Regions from separate parts of the Homo sapiens genome. Here region 1 is linked to region 2. Evidence: promoter capture Hi-C in human tissues and cell types (Jung and others, 2019). All regions are on one chromosome and are shown on one strand. Each heading gives the region's core, a stretch centred on a gene start or on the middle of the fragment in contact. The rest is flanking DNA. Distances are from core to core; before and after follow the strand shown. Region 1 holds the start of CHADL (chondroadherin like). Region 2 overlaps LOC105373042 (a long non-coding RNA gene).

The links. The method cuts DNA at HindIII sites, captures the fragments that hold promoters and counts their contacts. A contact is called where the count stands out against the background at its distance.
Region 1: a contact is called between the fragment with the promoter of CHADL here and a fragment that was not itself captured in region 2, in 1 of the 25 tissues and cell types used here (dorsolateral prefrontal cortex).

Annotation. Positions count from the first base shown.
Region 1 is chr22:41,239,360-41,242,351 of GRCh38, reverse strand. It overlaps CHADL (chondroadherin like), which reads left to right and starts at 1,421. Exons shown (of 6, transcript NM_138481.2): 1 at 1,421-1,478; 2 at 2,732-2,909. The coding sequence starts at 1,471. RefSeq lists enhancers at 817-1,317, 1,318-1,818. The HindIII fragment of the contact is 27,215 bases long and covers 1-2,992 here.
Region 2 is chr22:41,377,739-41,380,981 of GRCh38, reverse strand. All of the region lies in intron 1 of LOC105373042 (a long non-coding RNA gene), which reads left to right. It also overlaps a transcript of TEF not described here. Among named protein-coding and RNA genes, the nearest start is that of TEF, 2.6 kb to the left of the region's middle. The HindIII fragment of the contact is 7,689 bases long and covers 1-3,243 here.

The DNA of each region.
Region 1 (2,992 bases), core at 172-2,671, 140 kb after region 2:
GTGAGACTCTGTCTCAAAAAACAAAAAACTCCTGCAGTCTAGGAAAAGTACACACAGATGTTCATTGTTTAACATATATAAATATATATAAACATATACATTTATATTTTTATTATATATAAATATATACACACATAAGTGTATACACACACACATACATATATATATATATATATATATATATATATATATATATATATATATATATGTATATATTTTTTTTCTTTTTTGAGACAGTTTCACTCTGTTGCCCAGGCTAGAGTGCAGTGGCGCCATCTCGGCTCTCGCGTTCATGCCATTTGCCTGCCTCAGCCTCCCAAGTAGCTGGGACTACAGGCGCCTGCCACCACACCCGGCTAATTTTTTGTACTTTTAGTAGAGATAGGGTTTCACTGTGTTAGCCAGGATGGTCTTGATCTCGACCTCGTGATCCACCCGCCTCCGCCTCCCAAAGTGCTGGGATTACAGGCGTGAGCCACCGCGCCCGGCCTTTTTTTTTTCTCTTGAGACAGAGTCTGTGTTGCCCAGGCTGGTCTCAAACTCCTGGGCTCAAGTGATCCTCCCACCTCAGCCTCCCAAAGTGCTGGGATTACAGGCATGAGCCACTGTGCCTGACCCCTGTTTCCAATTAAAGGAACAAACAGTAGAAGATGCAATTCCATCAGAAGCAGGAATCTGAAAAATCAAGATACATGAACATTGGCCATGGTCTGGATGTATTATTTAAAAAACAAACACGAGCTTGGGAAGATGCGTATTTGGATATTCTTTGCAATATTGTTTGTAAATAGCAAAAAATTGGAGGTAGCCAATGTCCAAGATGAATGGCTAAGTCAATGTGATACATTTACACAATGGAATACTATATACCACAGAATAATGAGATTCGGAAGAGTCAATTTGGATAACTCCCAGTAATCTGAGGTTAAGTGAAAAAAATGAGTGTCTAGAATCCTGTGTGTCCAGTATTAAACTATTTATGTCAATGTGTAAGCACAAACGGAAGGAAAGGGTCACCTGTTCTGAAGCACCCACTGTGTGCCAGGTGCGGGCCTGAACCCCCACTGTGACCTCAGAGCTACTTATTAATGGGATGTGTTTTTCAGAGACTAGGAAGCAGCCTCTGGGAGGGCAGCCCACATGGCAGGAGGGAGCCCAGGACTGCTGACTCCCGGGCCAGCTGCTGGTGCCCCCTCCCTGTCGGGCTGGCCCAAGGATTCAGGCCGGGGCCTCAGTCCTCGGCTGGGGCAGGCAGGAGGCCCTGTAACTCCAGCCGCTGCTCCCGCCCGCCGCCCGCCCCTTCTTCACCTCAGCCTGGGGAAGCCTGGCTTGCCTGGTCTGCCGACAATGCCTCCCATTCAGCCCTGTCCCAGCTGCCAGGCCTGCGGGCCGTGGAGGGGGGCTCCTGCCAGGCGGGGACAGCCTGTCCCTGCGCTGCGCCTCCAGGCTGGACCAGCAGTTCCAGGCGGCATGGAGGGGTGAGTCTTTGGGCCCGATGGTGCAAGGGGGGATTCAGAGCAGCTCAGTGGCCTCAGGTAAGTCTCTGCCCCCTCTGGGCCTCTCAGAGGCTGGCGGGCAGGGGCTCTGGGGACTTCCTGGGGTTCTCCAGGAAGGGGGTCTCCCAAGGTGGGCTCTGAGACACGTGGCAATGTGGCCACTGCCAGGAACTGGTCCTCTGGGGCTTGTCTGAGAGCCCAGCAGTGGTCCCTGCATTATGAATGCTTGTCGCTTCAGCGATCTGTCCCCATGGGTCCCCTCCCTGGCCTGCCCTGAGGCACAGCCTTCACCACAGGCTCTGGAGAAGCCACCAACTCCAACGCAGGGGCTGGAGCCTGGGACCCAAAGGAGACTCCAAAACAGACGATAGTCCAGTGAGCAGCGAGGGGGAGGCTCCTGGGGGCCGGGGAACAGCCCAGCGATGGGGGAGAGGCCATGCCTGACACAGGCTGAGAACAGAGGGGCCAGCTGGGCAGGGGAGGTGATCTATCATCCTAGCGCTTTGGGAGGCCAAGGTGGGACAATCACTTGAGGCCAGGAGTTCAAGACCAGCCCGGGCAACATAGCGAGACCCTGTCTCTACCAGAAGTAATTAAAAAATTAGCCAGGCGTGGTGGTGTGTGCCTGTAGTCCCAGCTACTCAAGAGGCTGAGGTGAGAGGATCACTTTAGCCCAGGAGGTGAAGGCTGCAGTAAGCCATAGTCATTCCACTGCACTCCAGACTCCAGCCTGGGCAACAGAGCAAGGCTTGTCTCTATTTAAACAAACAAACAAAAAAAGACTCAAGGACCCGGACTGGATGCCTCCCTCCTTTCTGGGGGGTACCATTATGCTCCTGCCACCTGGGAGCTGGCATCATATCAGTCTGAGGACAGGCTGCTTCCGAGCCTACCCTGGACCAGAGCCTCACCACAGCCTGAGAACATGCTCTGAACTGGAGTCATTCTCACAGTCAGCAAGTCCTCACTGAGCCATTGGGCAGAGGCAAAGGGACTAACCAGGTCACTTTTCTGAGCCTCGGTTTCCTCCCATGTAAAACAGGACTAATCATAGGACCTCCACTGCGTGGGGGGTGGGGGGCAGGGAGGCTCAGGGTGATTGGCACTTTCCTGGGCCCAAAGGAGGAGGCTCTGAGGGGTTTTTGGGGCAGGAGCTGCACCATGGCTGGGACTAAGTGAGGGACAGCATGTGGCCTCGGCCCTTGTGCACAACAGACTCTCCCTCCCCGTCCCAGGCCCCGGAGCTCCACCCATGTCCCCTTGGTGCTGCCGCTTCTTGTACTTCTGCTGCTGGCCCCGGCTAGGCAGGCCGCCGCCCAGCGCTGCCCACAGGCCTGCATCTGTGACAACTCCAGGCGACACGTTGCCTGCCGGTACCAGAACCTCACTGAGGTGCCAGACGCCATCCCTGAGGTCAGCAGGGCAGGAGCACAGGCACAGAGTGGCAGTGGGGCAAGGTGGGGACCCAGAGGGAGGAGCCTGGGCTGGGCACCAGT
Region 2 (3,243 bases), core at 126-2,625:
TGGAGCTTGTTTCCTCGGCCATAAAATTAAGAGGTTGGGCTAGAGAATCTCCACAGTCCCAAACAGATGTGAAATTCTTTTCCTTTCTAGAACTCTCCCTTCTTTTACCTAGAAAACAAAAACCTCCTTGACACCAGGTACCGATGCCACGTTTTGTGGGAGAACCACCTCCTCTCTTAAAATATAAAGCCTCCCCGGGAGTTCCGCAGAAATCCGTAAAAATGTAATATGTGGCGCGGTACACAAATGGAAAGCTGCTCCTAAACAGCGCTCAGAACTTTGTACCTCTTTATAGTACAGATCAGACTCCGCTGCAAACCCAGGCAACATTAGACTCCCCGCTTAACTCCCGGAAGGCAGAGAGCTTGGCTTGTTTATCCAGCATCCCTACAGTGGCCCAGCCCTTCTAGCAGGAGGGGTTGGGGGGGTGGTATAGTGATAGTCCTTGGTTCAGGGGGTAGATGCATGATCCAGACACCCACAGCCAGCTAAAAGTTATCAAGCTGATGCAATCAGAATTTTGCTGGGGCTGGGCTTGGTGACTCACGCCTGTAATCCCGGCACTTTGGGAGGCAGAGGTGGCGGATCACCTGAGGTCAGGAGTTCGAGACCAGCCTGGCCAACAGGGCGAAACTCCGACACTACTGTAAGTACAGAAATAATTAGACGGGCATGGTGGCTGGCGCCTGTAATCCCAGGTACTGGGGAAGCTGAGGCACGAGAATCGGTTTGAACCTGGGAGGTGGAGGTTTCAGGGAGCCGAGATCGCGCCACTGCAGTCAAGCCTGGGCGACAGAGGGAGACTCCATGTCAAAAAAATAAATAAATAAAAATAATTTTGCGGCGGGGTAAGGAGGAAAAAGAAGTTGGGTAGCTGACCAGGCCTGGAAAGCAAGAGATTTGAAGGACTTTGGGTGGTGGTAGAGACAGGATGATAGGTCTGATTCCAAAATTCAAGCTCTCACTGCCACTGTAATTGAACCTCAGTCATTTTCTGAATCTGATGCCTCGATTGCTTTACCTTTTCAGGCCTCCTTTTCTTTTTATTTTCTTTTCTTTTCTTTTCTTTTTTTCTTTTTTTTTTTTTTGAGACGGAGTTTTGCTGTTGTTGCCCAGGCTGGAGTGCAATGGCGCGATCTCGGCTCACCGCAACCTCCGCCTCCCAGGTTCAAGCGATTCTCCTGCCTCAGCTTCCCGAATAGCTGGGATTACAGGCATGCGTCACCACGCCCGGCTAATTTTGTATTTTTAGTAGAGACGGGGTTAATTTTGTATTTTTGGTAGAGACGGGGTTTCTCCATGTTGGTCAGGCTGGTCTCGAACTCCTGACCTCCGGTGATCCACCCGCCTCGGCATCCCAAAGTGCTGGGATTACAGGCGTGAGCCACCGCACCCAGCGTTTTTTCCTTTTATGCCAAATGGAGTTAGGGCAGGCTCTACCTTATGGTGTTTTTGTTTTTTGTTTTTTGTTTTTGAGACGGAGTTTTGCCCTTGTTGCCCAGGCTGGAGTGCAATGGCGGGATCTCGGCTCACTGCAACCTCTGCCTCCTGAGTTCAAGCGATTCTCCTGCCTCAGCCTCCTGAGTAGCTGGGATTGCAGGCGTGCACCACCACGTACGGCTAATTTTTTTTTTCTTTTTTCCGAGACAGAGTCTCACTCTGTAGCCCAGGCTGGAGTGCAAATGGCGGGATCTCGGTTCACTGCAAGCGCTGCCTCCCGGCTTCCCGCCATTCTCCTGCCTCAGCCTCCGGAGTAGCTGGGACTACAGGAGCCCGCCACCGTGCCCGCCTAATTTTTTGTATTTTCTATAGAGACGGGGTTTTACCACATTGGCCAGGCTGGTCTCGAACTCCTGACCTCAGGTGATCCACCCGCGTCTCCCAAAGTGCTGGGATTACAGGCGTGAGCCACCGCGCCTGGCCTACCTTACGGGGTTTCTGTGAGCCAATTTGCGTAGGCGCACAGTTGCAAACCTTCAACAAATTTAGTTTTCATAATTTTACTAAAACTGGTTGGCATATCCATTATCCCAGAGGTTAGTGTGGTGCCTGTGTCACTCTCTGTAGTGAAAATAGTTAATTGTGTACAGAAAATTTGTTGTGTTGTAGAATTGTTAGTGAGAATTCTGTGTGTGGCGAAACTTAAACACCTTTAGGGGAAGCTAACCTAGACAAAGGACATTCCAAGGAAACTGATTAAACCAATACAGGGCTGGGCGTGGTGGCTCACCCATGTAATCCCAGCACTTTGGGAGGCTGAGGCAGGCGGATCACCTGAGGTCAGGAGTTCGAGACCAGCCTGGCCAACGTGGTGAAACCCTGTCTCTATTAAGAATATAGCCGGGCACAGTGGCTCACGCCTGTAATCCCAGCACTTTGGGAGGCCGAGCCGGGAGGATCACAAGATCAGGAGATCGAGACCATACTGGCTGACAGTGAAACCCTGTCTCTACTAAAAAATACAAAAAATTAGCTGGGTGTGGTGGCGGGCACCTGTAGTCCCAGCAACTCGGGAGGTTGAAGCAGGAGAATGGCGTGAACCCGGGAGGCGGAGCTTGCAGTGAGCCGAGATCACGCCACTGCACTCCAGCCTGAGCGACAGAGCGAGACTCCCTCTCAAAAAAAAAAAAAAAAAAAAGGCAAAAGTTAGCTGGGCGTGGTGGCGAGTGCCTGTAATCCCAGCTACTCGGGAGGCTGAGGCAGGAGAATTGCTTGAACGTGGGAGGCGGAGGTTGCAGTGAGCCGAGATCGTGCCACTGCACTCCAGCCTGTGGGACAGAATGAGACTCTGTCTCAAAAAAAAAAAAAAAAAAAAAGGAAGCTAAGGAAGCTTTTTAAAAAACCTGCTAGTTTGGCCATGAGGAGACTTGATGGCTTAGAATCATACCTATATAGTCTCATGGCTAATACGACATTATTGCTGGGAAGAAAAACCCATTCTCAAAGTATTAGACAATGATTAATGATAACAGTGGAAGGTTCTAACACGTGTTTATGAGAAAGATGGGATGTAGTAAGAGGAAGTAAAGATTTAGATTTTCTTTTTTTAGCTGTAGTTATCCAAAACGAATAATGCCTACTCCACTCATCTCCCAGCCTGGAGCAGCTACCCTAACAGGCAAGTGACGCTGGTGAGAAGTGAGACCAGCGGGTTAAGCCTCCAGAACTTGGTGTTCATGTACTGACACTCCCCAGAGAGAGTTTTTTCCCCTGGATAACCAGAGGGTAGATGATGTGTCACAA